Linked DNA regions of Homo sapiens: regions 1, 2, 3 and 5 are each linked to region 4. Evidence: promoter capture Hi-C in 16 types of primary human blood cells and fetal thymus (Javierre and others, 2016). All regions are on one chromosome and are shown on one strand. The core of a region is centred on a gene start or on the middle of the fragment in contact, and the rest is flanking DNA. Distances in the headings are between cores, read along the strand shown. Region 1 overlaps PELI2 (pellino E3 ubiquitin protein ligase family member 2). Region 2 overlaps TBPL2 (TATA-box binding protein like 2). Region 3 has its middle 8.1 kb from the start of KTN1-AS1. Region 4 holds the start of NAA30 (N-alpha-acetyltransferase 30, NatC catalytic subunit). Region 5 overlaps KTN1 (kinectin 1).

Region 1 (2,700 bases), core at 199-2,698, 1.3 Mb before region 4:
AGTGTTTTGTTAGGTAAGACAAAGAGGGGTATAGTAGCTTGTAGAGTTTATGGTCTTTTTTTTTTTTTTAAAAGCAGGTCCCACTTTCTGTATGCTTTTTGTTGTTGCTGTAACCTCAGCACTTTGCCTTGACTACTCCACCCTTTGGTGGCAATAAGAAACCTTCAAATATACCCTAACACTTTTCCTTTTCTCATCCTCCACTCTAATTTGGGCCCAAAGACATCAAACATTAGTATCTTTTATAGACTAAAAGGTCTTTGAACTTTAAAAAAATTTATAAAACAAAATCTTTACTGTAGCTCAGCATGTGGGGTGATCTGAAGAGCTCAGATCTGTTTGTGTGGATGGAGTGTCTAATTCTGTGGGCTATTAAGGGTTACGGTGTTACTGGCTTTGAGTTGCTATATTTTCCTTTACTAACTTTAGCCTTGTTTGGAATATGTGGCTGTCTGTGTTGCTGTGTGGTTTCTGGTCTGGCTTTCTCAGATTTATTTATTTCTCTCTTTAACACACCAAGACTGAAAGCTTCATTAGGTCTTTTCATTTCTGGTTGTGTTTCATCCTGTGATCAATATTTGGGGATGCTGTGTATAAATGAAAGTAAAACAGGCTTGATTCAGGTTCAGTAATTTTACCAAACATTTTATCGAAAAGATAAAATACTTATGCACAAAGGACCAAAACAAAACAAAATAGCCGTTGCTATATTTGAGGAAGACCAATATTGTCACATTGGAGCACTGGTTTTATATCTGCTGTGCAGGGCTTGCAGTGTGGCCTTCCTGAAAGTAGGTATATGGGGTTGTAGGTTGGCTTTTGAATGGAGACAACAGCAACTTGGTAGACCTCATTGGTATGGGAGAAAAATAACTGTGAAAAGGAATTTATAATGTCTTTTGATTTAATTAAACGTTTCTCCTGGGGTGTGCAGAAATCTATTTTATAAAAAGAAAAGTAAAGGTTAGAATAATTCAGTTATTAGTTCTTACTGAGCTTATTGTCACCTTCATCTTCTGGAAAATAAAATAATAAGAGCAGAAAGTGCTTCATATTTCTTAGCTTTGTCTAAATCACCTGTTCTCAACCACTGTCTCAAGTACCTCATATGTGATGATCAGTCTTGAGGGTATGTGGCCAGTAATTTATGACAAGTAATAAAGTGTGGATCTTTCAAATGATTCAGATATGTCATGTTAATAATGTCATTTTTCACCCTTTTGCATTCTGATGTGTTTTCTCAAGTGGGAGAGAAAGGGGTGGAGTTACATCAGGCAAGCCAGGAATGTATGCATTCAGCAAATATTTATTGGCTGTCTACTCTTCCAGGCATGAGGAATACAGCTAGGACAAGGCAGACACATTCCTTTTCCTGGTGAACTGCTCTCTTATTTTTGTCCCAGCCTCTTTGTGAATAACCGTTACTGATACATGGTTCATTTATTTATTCCCCAAATATTTGAGCATCTGCCACTTGTCAGATGCTGTGGATTGCACTAAGGGATACGCAGATGAACAAGACAGTCATGGTCCCTGCTGCTGCAGCACTGACAGCCTAGCTGGAAGACCTGAAGGCTGGGATGGTGGATGTGTTAGCAGGGTCCCCTAGCCATGTGCCAGGATGAGATGGGGATGACCACGATGGAGATAAGAGGGAAGGAGTGCTTTCCGAAGAAGGTTTGGAGTATTCTGCAACCTAGAGATGAAAACGTGCAGCTACTTTGAGGAACAGAGAAACACTCTTTATGGCTAGGAAAGAATGATTGAATGAAACATTGTGAGGGATGATGATGGGGGGATATCATGAAGGGCTTATAAGATATTGGAAGGGGTTTGGACTTTACCCTAAGAGCACAGGAGACTGTCTCAGGGTTTTGCTAGTATGAGATGGGAGTGAAGAAAGCCCTCTGCTCTTTGCAGAGTGGAGTTGGAAGGCACAGTGGAGTTGGAAGGAGAAACTGAGGCTGCAGCCCAACAAGGCAGAGAGAGAATGGAGTGTGAGCTAGAGGGCAGCTGTCTTGCTTCTAGTTCCTGGTTCGGGTACCTCCTGAGACCTAGTTTCGTGTGATTGACCATTCATTCAGTGACTCAAGATACTGACTGAGGACCAGCACTGCTCCCAGCCCTGGGCTACACCAGCAAACAAGACAGACAGCTGCCCTTCCTGCCTGCTTGGAGCTTACCTTTTTTTGAGAGAGGTGAGCAAGCAAAGGAGTAGATAAAAAATGGAACTTCAGAGACTGCTGGGAGGAAACTAAAGCAGGATAAGGAGGAAGAGAGTTATTGGGTGGGCAGGGGGGGGGTGAATTGGCAGGGTGAAATGCTAGGGATAAGGTAGTGGGGGATCCTTTTGGACAAAATAATCAGGAAAAGCTTTTCCGAGAAAATAGTCCTGTGTCCTTTGAGAGTCCCCACTTCTTTCGGTTTTTACTTACTTTTTTTTCTGTTTAAGCCACCTTGAGTGGGTTCTGCTCTTTCAATCAGAAGATTCCAAGTATCCCGTTAAGAGGCAACGTATATAAGCAATTTACTGAAGGGAAAAATAGAAGTGTAAACAAATACAAGGGCAGATAGTTAAGTATCCCTGGACAAAAACGTGGTTCTGCCCTCTGTGCTGCTTGCCATGTGCCCAGAGTGGCCATTGAATTCCACCAGAGCGTATTGCCCCTTGAGGGTAGGAACCTTGACTTCCCCCCTCCT
Region 2 (2,700 bases), core at 81-2,580, 2.0 Mb before region 4:
TTGAACTTCTGGCCTTAAGTGATCCTCCTGCCTCAGCCTCCTAAGTAGCCTGCAGGGGCATGCACCACCACACCTGCCTAAATTTTTATAGAGACAGGGTCTTGCTGTCTTGCCCAGGCTGGGCTCAAACTCCAGGACTCAAGTGACCCTCCCAACCTCAGCCTCCCCAAGTACTGAGGTTACAGGTGTGAGCCACTGCACATGGCCATCTGTTGATCTGGTATCTACTCACTAGATTGACTACAGCTGCACAGCACTGCCCTTGGCTCTCTTCACCCACTTCTCACTCTTGAAATGTCCTTAGCAAGGCCATGTCCCCAGGTTAGCAGTAAAATAAACTGTTTCCATTTTGAACTACATTTTGCCTAACTAATCTATTACATTTCCCGTAATGTAAATAAGTTCAAATTTGTTCAAGTTTGCATAGTCCTGTAGTTTCTTGGGATATCAGCTGTGATATTCTAAGGACACAGAAGTTTCTATTGAAACAACTAATAGTTGAAAGTCTATATACATGTTCATTGTACAAACATTAGAAAGTAGTTTAAAAATCTTAAAATCTCACCCATACTGGTGTTAACTACCTAAATTTGATCTTCTGCACTTTTCCTACGCAAACACAGGTATCCCTCATACTCTTGCTGTTACAACAAAAGAGAATAGGTTTGGATAAAATGTGGAGATAATACTGGCACCTCTTATTAACTAAATTCTCACAACTCACTATCCAAAACTTCAAAACCAAATATATTTGGATAAAAAGTATCTCTTATTATCTGAACTCATTATCCAAACTTTCACTATCAGATTTTAGGAATAAATTCAGATAAGAAAAGACACTCATGAATGTGTGTAATATGTGTAACATGAGCATATTTTACAATGAAAGTTGGATAACAAACACCATTTAGCTGCTTACTTCTCCCTCTGCAATCCAACTTAATACAATGTGACCATCCTTTCAGCTCAGTATGTGTACTATATGGCTAATACAATTTTACTTTATGACTTCAAATTGAAACCCTATTATTAATTAGGTTTTCCCTGTTCTATTGCTGAAATGAACATTATTACAGACATCTTGCACAACTGTCCAATAATCACTTTAAAATGGAGATTCCTGGGATCAACATAAGAGAAAGTCCAGCAATGTACTCAGACACATGTGAAGAACTTAATATGTAAAAACAGATTGGGGGAAATGTAGTAACAATGGATCCTTCAATAAATGTATCTGAGTACCGACTGATCATTTGGGAAAAATAATTATCTTACATTGAAACAAAATTCTAGATCTGCTCTGTCCAATTAATATAAATTCAGTCCCTCAGTTGTATTAGCTGTATTTCAAGTGCTCAGTAGCCACATCTGACTAGTGGCTATATCATTGCATTAAACAGTGCAGATATAGAACATTTCCATCTAGAGAAAGCTCTAAGTGAATCAAAATACCAGCTATCCTTTTCCTATCACAAAGCAGGACCTGAAAAAGACCAAAAAATATATGAAAGTCAATATTTGTATAATACTGTGCACAAATGCCTTAAGGGCAAAGCCAAATGTAGAAAACAAAGAAAAAAATGGGATAAAATGAGTATACCCTTCAAAATTTGTGTTTTTTAAAAAACCCACCATAGGCCAGATGTAGTAGCTCACGCCTGTAATCCCAGCACTTTGGGAGACCAAGGTGGGAGGACTACTTGAGCCCAGGAGTTCGAGACCAGCCTGGGCAATATGGGGAAACCCCCGTCTCTACAAAAAAAAAAAAAAAAAATTAGCCAGGCCTGGTGGTGCATACCTGTGGTCCCAGCTACTTAAGAGGCCGAGCTGGAAGGATGGCTCCAGCCCGGGAGGTGGAGGTTGCAGTGAGCCCAGATCACACCACTGCACTCCATCCTGGATAACACAGTGAGACCGTGTCTCAGAAAAAAAAAAACAACAAATAAACAAACAACAAAAAAAACACCATAAAATACCATAAACAGTAATCTGAGAAAAAATATTTACAGTATAAAATGGTGAAAATAGTTAACAAAACAAAAACAAAAGATAAATCTCTCCATAGATAACTGAGCAAATGACATAGCAATTTCTGCACTTCTAAAAAGTTATTTAATCTCACTAGTAAATCAAAGAAATGTAAAACAATGTAACTTTTTGTCAATCAATTTAGCAAATATAAAAAGAATATCGACACCCAGTGTCCACAGGATAAAATGAACACTTAGTACATTTATAGAGCGAGAAATTGGCACAACTTTTCAGGAGGAGAATTTGCTTCTTATCTTTTAACACCTACAGGAGAAAACAGGCTCTGCCACTACAGAGTTATGGTGAAAGAATACCCATCAACACAGGGCTTCCTCTGCGTGAGATCCAGGAGAGATGAGATTTTTAAGGGATGCCTCCTGAGCTAATGCAAGCTAATGCTCAAGGAATGTCTAATTGAGCTCCTTTAGAAAGTTCTATCCATTTATCTGCAATGAGGAAAATCCACAATAACTACTTCCCCAGACTTATAACACACTTCATCATTACTGTAACTTAAAAAAAATTCACCTTAGAAACAAGTTGTAGCAGCGCAGTTAAGTCCCCTCGGTTTAATAGGGGAAACTGTAAAATGGGGATATGTCAGTATTTTATTATTTTTTTTAATAGAGACAGGGTCTTGCTCTGTAACTCAGACTGGACTGCAGTGGT
Region 3 (2,700 bases), core at 132-2,631, 1.8 Mb before region 4:
CAAGCTGCCTAGGACTAAGGGATTTTCCAGCATGTGAGACTTTGAGTGATATAACTGAAAAAGTCTCAGACAAACTGGTATGAGATGGTTAATGCAGTTACAAGAAAATCAAGCAGGGGTCAGATCCCCTTGGTAGTATGGATCCATGATTCCAGTAAGAATAGCATATCCCTTCTCTGTCTGTTCGGTGGCTGGAAAAACACATAAACGACCACCTGGAAGCCTCAACTGTCAGATCAAATAGGATATATTTATCTCCTGATAGAAGTCTTCCTCCCCTGGCATCCAAGACCTCTAAATATGCAGAGATTAATAGGTATAATAATAAGAGCTGGCGGGGCACGGTGGCTCATGCCTGTAATCCCAGCACTTTGGGAGGCTGAGGTGGGCAGATCACCTGAAGTGAGGAGTTCAAAACCAGCCTGGCCAACATGGCGAAACCCTGTCTCTACTAAAAATACAAAAATTATCCCAGTGTGCCGGCACACGCCTATAATCCCAGCTACTCGGAAGGCTGAATCAGGAGAATCACTTGAACCCGGGAGGCTGAGGTTGCAGTGAGTTGAGATTGAGCCACTGCACACCAGCCTGGGAGACAGAGCAAGACTCCACCTCAAAAAAAAAAAAAAAGAAAAAAAAATTAAGAGCCATTCTCACTTCTTCCTTTTGGTTTCTGCACCTATATATTTTGTCTACAGATTTTTTAAAAAGTCATACAGATTTGTAGCTGATTTGGAGCACACATATTGCATCTGGTAGAACAGCACTCTAATGCCTCGGTCTCTGTCTCTCATTTGTCACCAAAGCTGTTTTTTTGATAGCCATTCCAACCATTCTGTAATGTTAGCTGCTGCTTGTGAATTCTTTGCCCATTGTCTCACTCTGCTGTGATTATCAGTTTGTCAGAAGCAATGGTGTGTGGTGTGTCAGAAGAGCCATGTGGATGAGGTTTCGACTGAAGTCAAGGAAAGAGAAGCATTTCAAGAAGTGATCAGTGCTGTCATATGTAACAGAGAGGTTTTACCAGATGAAGACTGAGATGCTTCACTAGAGTTAGCAGCAAGAATGTCATTGGTGACTTTGGTGAGAAGTGTTTCAGAATCTAGTTGTGGGTACAGAAGCATAATATGAGGAGTGAATGTGAGTGAAAATACTCAGTCAAGTAAGTGACTCCTTTTGTTTTTTTTTGAGACGAGGTCTCACTCTATCACCCAGGCTGGAGTGCAGTGGTGTGATCTCAGCTTACTGCAACCTCCACCTCGCGGGCTCAAGTGATCCTTCCACCTCAGACTCTGGAGTAGCTGGCACCACAGGCACACACCACCATACCAAGCTAATTTTTGTATTTTTTGGTAGAGATGGGGTTTTACCATGTTGCCCAGGCTGGTCTCAAACTCCTGAGCTCAAGTGATCCACTCACCTCAGCTTCCCAAAGTGCCGGGATCACAGGTGTGAACCATCACACCCATCCTAAGTAAGTGACTCTTAATTAACCAGTCAGCCAACCAACCAACCAACCAACCAACCAAAAACCTGGCTTTGCAAGAAATGAGGTAGATGGGGTGATCTGGAGTTGGAAGTAACTTTTTTTTTCCCATTTAAGTGGAGAGAGCTCTCAATGCACTAATGACTGACAGAGAGGGAGAGGTTGGAAATACAGACAGAAAGGGCATTGCTGATGGAGTGAGGTCCCTGAGGGGGCTGAAAAGGCTGACATCCAGAGCTCTGTGTCATGAGACTTGGCATCTAGAGAAATTATTCTACAGCCTTCATGGAATAATGATTTGTAACAGAGCTTGGAATCTATTTGCTTTTTCTCATAAATAGAAAATTTCCAAAACAATATACAGAAGTACCAAAAGGTGGCTTTAAAAAAATTGTTGACTCAGAAGAAATTGGTATACTGGAGATGTGGTCAAAAATAAATGGAACAAAGCCTATGAAGGTTAACAGAGCTGTCATGCTACAGGGGGAAAAACACTGGGTAAGGGCTGGCTGGGGTCCAAGTGTTATCACAAAGGAACTGAATAGGAGTCAGTAAACAGGAGCGAGGGTTAAAATGTGAGCACCACTTCAGAGGACAAAAATTTTTGAATGCATGTTTTACATTCAAACACCTAACAGGATGCTATGCACGTTATAAATATTTGCTGACTTGATTTGATTTGTTGCTACTGATCTGCCCTCGCCTGGTCATATTAAGAGTTATTTGGACAGCAGTGGTGATGGTTTATGCTGACATATCGACATTCTCTAGCCTGATTCCTCAGGCCAGGTTTATCCCTGCAACATAGTTGGTCAGGATGAAGGTTGTGCAGGCAGTGAAAGAGAACTTTTTTGTTTTTCTTTTATATGACACATATATGACAGCCTGCTGCCTGTATGTTGACCAAATTTTTTATTTAGGCCTTGTTGAAGAGCTAATACTGATCACCTAAAACTGATCTAACTTTCCAAGCAAATAAAACTTGTCAAGTGAGGACTAAAGAACTACAAAGTAACCTTCCATTACTGGGAGCATTCTTTAGGGATCTTACTAGCAAAAGTGTAGCATTCATTATTAAAGAGAGCCATGGAAAATCTTCCAGAGACTTCCCCAACCACACCCCAACCCCCCAGAGAGGAGGAGAGCACTAGCAGCATAAGATGCATGGGTAATTAGATTAGAGGATAAAGACTGCAAGGCTGATTTTTAATAAA
Region 4 (2,700 bases), core at 151-2,650:
TATAATGGGTAATATGCTTCTGATTGACTTTCTCGCACGATACTTGCCGTGGAACCCAGCCACCAGGCTGTGACAAAGCCCAAACCAATCAATGCTAAAAGACCACCGGGAGAGGTCTACATGGACTAGAACTGAGGCCTCCAGCCTTTATCCTGCATCAACCATCAGCGGTGAAAGTGAAGTTTTCAAATAATTCTACTCCTCAGCCTTAGAGTCTTCCAACTGAAGCTCTACGCATAATGGAGTAGAGAAAAGCCATCCCAGTTGTGCTCTGTCTGGATTTCAGAGGCACAGAATCTGCGAGCATAATAAATACTTTATACATAGAGTTTAGATTACGGCAAAAAGTTGCAAACGTGTTCCGTCATAGAATTATATATTGAAAACGTCCATCTGCGGCACACCAGACCAGCTCTATAAATCAGGTTTTTAACAAAACCGAATTTGTTCAGTGAGCGGGTGAGTTACACTACCTGTCTCAGCTCAGACCTGCCGGGAGTCAATTGTGGACTAGAGCAGAAGGCGCCCAGCCACAAGCTCAAGTTCTATCCCCTTTGCACTCGATAGGCAGATCCCCTGGGAGGATCAGGCCACCTGTTTACCAGTGCTTCCTAACCTATTTGTGTCACAAGTTTAGGAGTGTGCTTCTTAGCCCTGGTCACTCTCTTTCACCACCTCTCTCTAACCCTTCCCCAGGTGTGCTAGCAATTGCCCAACACCTGTCAGTCACTTTTGCCTCCAATTTTACTGGGTGCGAGGAGCAGAGTAAGGAGGGAGAGGAAGAGGGCTGACTCCCTTGCCTCAAAGTGGCAAGGGCCAGCTGAACTTAATTCACACTGCAAACCACCACGTTTCGACAGCCATCCCCATATTTTCACAGCTCAAATCTTCCTTTCTTTTTCGGTCGGCTTCTCTGATTTGCTCCATTTTTAATCGCTCCTCCCCCATCCTCCTTGCCCCTGGTCAGGGCAAACATTAAACGCTGTGCAGCTTTAAAAGGGCATTTTTAGGTGACTTGTAAACGGCTTGTTCCACAGGCCCCGAATTGGCGAGATTCGCTACAGCTCGGAGTGCGCGGTAGACTTTAAGCAGGGAGCGCCTGCCCGGTCCATCCCTCCCCGGCCCCGCGTGGCAAGCACCGCAGGTTGAGGCGCCCCCAAACCGAGGAAGAGGGTTTGGGAGCCTGTGACTCCAAAGCCCTCTGCAACTTCCCGGCCCCACAGCCCCACCCACTAGCACGCGGCCTTCCCCGCAGCCCGCAGGAGACACCTTTGTCCCCGCCCCTCCACAGGTCACCTCCCTCCACGCCCCTCTCTCTTGGCCCGGGCAGCCGGCAGGCAGGGAAGTGTCGTAAAGCCAGGCCCAGGAAACTTTACCCGGCCTAACAGCTGAGGCGCTTTACGGCGACGGCGGCTGAGTGAGAACCTTGGCGGCTGTGGAGGCTGCCGCGGCTGCGAAGGAGGCGGCGGCGGTGGCGGAGGAAGAGGAGTGGCGGCAGCGGCGGCGGGGACCCGTGCGGGGTGAGCCGTGAGGAGGGGCCGCGAGTGACAGGGCTGGCGGGTGGGCCCGGGCGGACGGGGACGGTGGCCGGCTGAGCAGCTGGGCGGCGCTGAAGAGCGGGGGGGTGGCGGGGAATTGGGGGGCAGCTCCGTGAGGGACGGTTTCTGCCTTTGTTCCCCCCACCTCGGCCGCCCCCCATCCGTCGCCCCCTGTTCTCCGCGCTCCTCGGCCGGGTTTCATGGCCTCCCCTCTCGGTCTGTGTCGCTTCTAGGATGGCGGAGGTACCGCCTGGGCCTAGCAGCCTCCTCCCACCACCAGCACCTCCGGCCCCGGCGGCGGTCGAGCCCCGCTGTCCCTTCCCGGCGGGGGCCGCCCTCGCCTGCTGCAGCGAGGACGAGGAGGACGACGAAGAGCACGAAGGCGGCGGCAGCAGGAGCCCGGCGGGCGGAGAGTCGGCGACGGTGGCGGCCAAGGGGCATCCGTGCCTCCGCTGCCCTCAGCCGCCGCAGGAGCAGCAGCAGCTCAACGGATTGATTAGCCCCGAACTGCGGCACCTCCGGGCGGCCGCCTCCCTCAAGAGCAAGGTCCTGAGCGTAGCAGAGGTGGCCGCGACCACAGCCACCCCTGACGGAGGCCCCAGAGCGACTGCAACAAAAGGAGCCGGGGTACACTCGGGCGAGAGGCCCCCTCACTCCCTCTCTAGTAATGCAAGAACTGCGGTCCCCAGCCCGGTGGAGGCAGCGGCGGCGAGCGATCCCGCGGCGGCCCGCAATGGACTGGCCGAGGGCACCGAGCAGGAGGAGGAGGAGGAAGACGAGCAGGTGCGGCTGCTGTCTTCGTCCCTGACCGCCGACTGCAGCTTAAGAAGCCCTTCGGGCAGGGAGGTTGAGCCTGGGGAGGATCGGACGATACGATATGTCCGATATGAATCCGAGCTACAAATGCCCGATATCATGAGACTGATCACCAAAGATCTGTCCGAACCCTACTCCATTTATACCTATAGATATTTTATCCACAACTGGCCACAGCTGTGCTTCTTGGTAAGTGGATAGAATAAAAAGAGGGTGAACCCAGCAGTGATCGAGACTGTGCGGGGCAGGGAGTGAGGGCCCAGAATGTGGCAGTGGATATCTCCTGCTGCGTATCATAGTACGTTATATGATGTCAAGTGCTGTACACATTCCTAGTTATTTAATG
Region 5 (2,700 bases), core at 185-2,684, 1.8 Mb before region 4:
AATGCTATGTTGCAGAACGTTGAAGATGTTGCCTTAAATCTGTAATATCCACACAGGTTGAATTCACTTACGTGCCACCAACCTGTACTTGCCTACTTTATTGGGAAGTCATGTTCATTTGAAATGTTTCCGTAATTACTTTACGTAGTTTTCATAATCTGGGTCTCTTGAGGTTGGCTGAATGTCATGATTTCTGTAAAGGGAATTCCTCAAGCTTGTATTTAGTGCTCTTATTTCTGGGTACAGTTTCAGGTGCTGTGCTGGATAATCTTTGTGCTTGGTACTCTATTGCTGGAGAATCATTTCTTAAATAGCTTCCAGTTTGACTAGATGTTTGCTGTAATTTTAAGTTTAAATTGAATCCTTTTGTAAAAGTGGCTTAATTCTTTCACTCTTTTTTTTCTTTTAGTCTAAATAATTGGATTTAGTTTTAACTTGAAGTATTTCTGAGCTTGAAAATTCTGGAGCACTTTTCAAGTAAAAAATACAGCTGACCTTTGGACAATGTGGGAATTAGGGGCACTAGCACCCTGTACAGTCAGAAATGTTTGTATAACTTTTGACTCTCCAGAAACTTAACTACTAGTACCCTACTTTTGACTGGAAACCTTACCAATTACATAAATAGTCAATTAACATGTATATTGTACGTTATATGTATTATATACTGTATTCTTATAATAAAGCTAAAGAAAAGAAAATGCTACTAAGAAAATCATAAGAGACTGTGTATTTACAATACTGTACTGTTTATTGATACCATAAGTTTATATCATCTGTAAGATGAATCATCTGTCTGAAACAGTGAGCAACTGTAACTGCAGACCTCAGTCTAAGTACATATCAAGTAATTCAACTTTTCCTTGTCATGACTTTTCTCTGCTTCTCGGGAGCACTTCCAGCATTACTAGTGGCACTTGGCATGGGTCTCATGGTGTTATTCAGGGTTTACAGTGTTGTGCTAAAAATGATGAAAAATATGCGAGAACTATGATCACTTTTTACTGTGATACTGTTACTGGAAGGACAGAATGCTCATGTGGAGATAATTAGAGTCATGGATAGGAGTCAGGGATACTTCAGACACTTGAGCTCACAGTAATACCAACAGGAGGTGGCCACAAAATTATTACAGTGGTACAGTATGTACTGCAGTTAATTTTATGCAGTTGTGATTTGGTACTGTATCTTGACCTTTGTTTACATTTCCATCTATTGCAAATGGCACCATGTACAGTAACCATATAGGGTCTGGTTTGTGTAAGTTTTGATAAATTTTAACTTTATTATTTGTGTATATTTTATGGTAGTAAATTATGAAATAGACTGGGATCTACATATATTTTATGCATTCATGACATTTTTCTTAATTTTTTTCAATATTTCTAGGCTGTGGTTTCCCTGTGAGTTTTTTTCATATTGTTGCAGTCTCCAAAAAATTTTCCAATATAGTTACCGAAAAAAAAATCTGCATGAAGTGGACCCACACAGTTTAAACCCATAGTGTTCAAAGGTCAGTTATACATTCAAGATTAGCCTTGGAATTATACATAAAATACAGCCGAGGCATTTACCTTGTCTGAGGTTTTGGGGAGAAAAGAAGTAATTCATAAATATAAGTTAGTTGTAAAGTGATGAAAGCCGAATTTTTGTCTGCTCTTTTAGGATTAATTACCTGGCATAAATTGGTAGTTATATTTCATATCCTTTCAGTGTTATGTAACCTTCATTTAAGCAGAAAGTCCTGGCAGCATTCAAAATAACATACTACTTTTGGTATAAAGAGATTCTTTTTTTTGAAACGGCGTCTCGCTCTGTCACCCAGGCTGGAGTGCAGTGGTACAATCTTGGCTCACTGCAACCTCTGACTCACTGCAACCTCTGCCTCCTGGGCTCAAGCGATTCTACTGCCTCCTGAGTAGCTGGGATTACAGGCACCTGCCACCAAATCTCGCTAATATTTGTATTTTTAGTAGAGATGGGGTTTCATCTTGTTGGCCAAGCTGGTCTCGAACTCCTGAAATCAAGTGATCCACCTGCCTTAGCCTCCCAAAGTGCTGAGATTACAGGCATGAGCCACCATGCTGGGCCAGAGATTCTTTAATTATTATTCTTGGTTACTATATTCATCTGATTTCTTTTTTTTTTTTTTTTTTTTGAGATGGAGTGTCTCTCTGTCGCCCAGGCTGGAGTGCAGTGGCACGATCTCTGCTCACTGCAACCTCCGCCTCCCAGGTTCAAGTGATTCTCCTGCCTCAACCTCTTGAGTAGCTGGGACTACAGGCATGCATCACCACGCCCAGCTAATTTTTGTATTTTTAGTAGAAACGGGGTTTCACCATGTTGGCCAGGATGGTCTCGATCTCTTGACCTTGTGATCTGCCCACCTCAGCCTCCTAAAGTGCTGGGATTACAGGTGTGAGCCACTGCACCCAGCCTTATTTATCTGATTTCTTAAGGTAGCTTTGTAATAAGTAAAAACAAAACAAAACAAAAAAAACCACACATACAAACCTAGATATTTTCTGTAAACATTTTTAATAGATTTCTTATTTTAAAGGACTTTTCTTTTTGGGGAAAATTTCTTCCAAAGTAGGAATAACTTTCTACAATTATTCAGTGCTTTTATTGTAATTGTATAAGTTAAGAAGCAGGGAAGCTTATGCCTGTTTGCTTGTTTGTTTTGATTTACATTTATCT

Evidence for each region. Contacts are between HindIII fragments. The CHiCAGO score rates a contact against its expected background, and 5 or more counts as called.
Region 1: a contact is called between a fragment that was not itself captured here and the fragment with the promoter of NAA30 in region 4, in 1 of 17 cell types (non-activated CD4 T cells). The highest score is 5.1, in non-activated CD4 T cells.
Region 2: a fragment that was not itself captured here is called in contact with the fragment with the promoter of NAA30 in region 4 in 1 of 17 cell types (naive CD8 T cells); the score reaches 5.5 in naive CD8 T cells.
Region 3: a fragment that was not itself captured here is called in contact with the fragment with the promoter of NAA30 in region 4 in 1 of 17 cell types (naive CD4 T cells); the score reaches 5.7 in naive CD4 T cells.
Region 5: a contact is called between a fragment that was not itself captured here and the fragment with the promoter of NAA30 in region 4, in 3 of 17 cell types (naive CD8 T cells, total CD8 T cells and total CD4 T cells). The highest score is 6.2, in naive CD8 T cells.

Annotation. Positions count from the first base shown.
Region 1 is chr14:56,123,123-56,125,822 of GRCh38, forward strand. The region is part of intron 1 of PELI2 (pellino E3 ubiquitin protein ligase family member 2); the gene reads left to right. Among named protein-coding and RNA genes, the nearest start is that of PELI2, 6.1 kb to the left of the region's middle. The HindIII fragment of the contact is 1,845 bases long and covers 527-2,371 here.
Region 2 is chr14:55,430,490-55,433,189 of GRCh38, forward strand. All of the region lies in intron 4 of TBPL2 (TATA-box binding protein like 2), which reads right to left. It also overlaps a transcript of FBXO34 not described here. Among named protein-coding and RNA genes, the nearest start is that of TBPL2, 8.8 kb to the right of the region's middle. The HindIII fragment of the contact is 5,799 bases long and covers 1-2,700 here.
Region 3 is chr14:55,570,669-55,573,368 of GRCh38, forward strand. No RefSeq gene overlaps it. Among named protein-coding and RNA genes, the nearest start is that of KTN1-AS1, 8.1 kb to the right of the region's middle. The HindIII fragment of the contact is 5,752 bases long and covers 1-2,700 here.
Region 4 is chr14:57,389,186-57,391,885 of GRCh38, forward strand. NAA30 (N-alpha-acetyltransferase 30, NatC catalytic subunit) reads left to right here and starts at 1,401. Exons shown (of 5, transcript NM_001011713.3): 1 at 1,401-1,520; 2 at 1,772-2,543. The coding sequence starts at 1,773. RefSeq lists an enhancer at 1,385-2,380 and silencers at 1,509-1,648, 1,779-1,928. The HindIII fragment of the contact is 6,905 bases long and covers 1-2,700 here.
Region 5 is chr14:55,587,519-55,590,218 of GRCh38, forward strand. The region is part of intron 1 of KTN1 (kinectin 1); the gene reads left to right. Among named protein-coding and RNA genes, the nearest start is that of KTN1, 8.7 kb to the left of the region's middle. The HindIII fragment of the contact is 2,445 bases long and covers 213-2,657 here.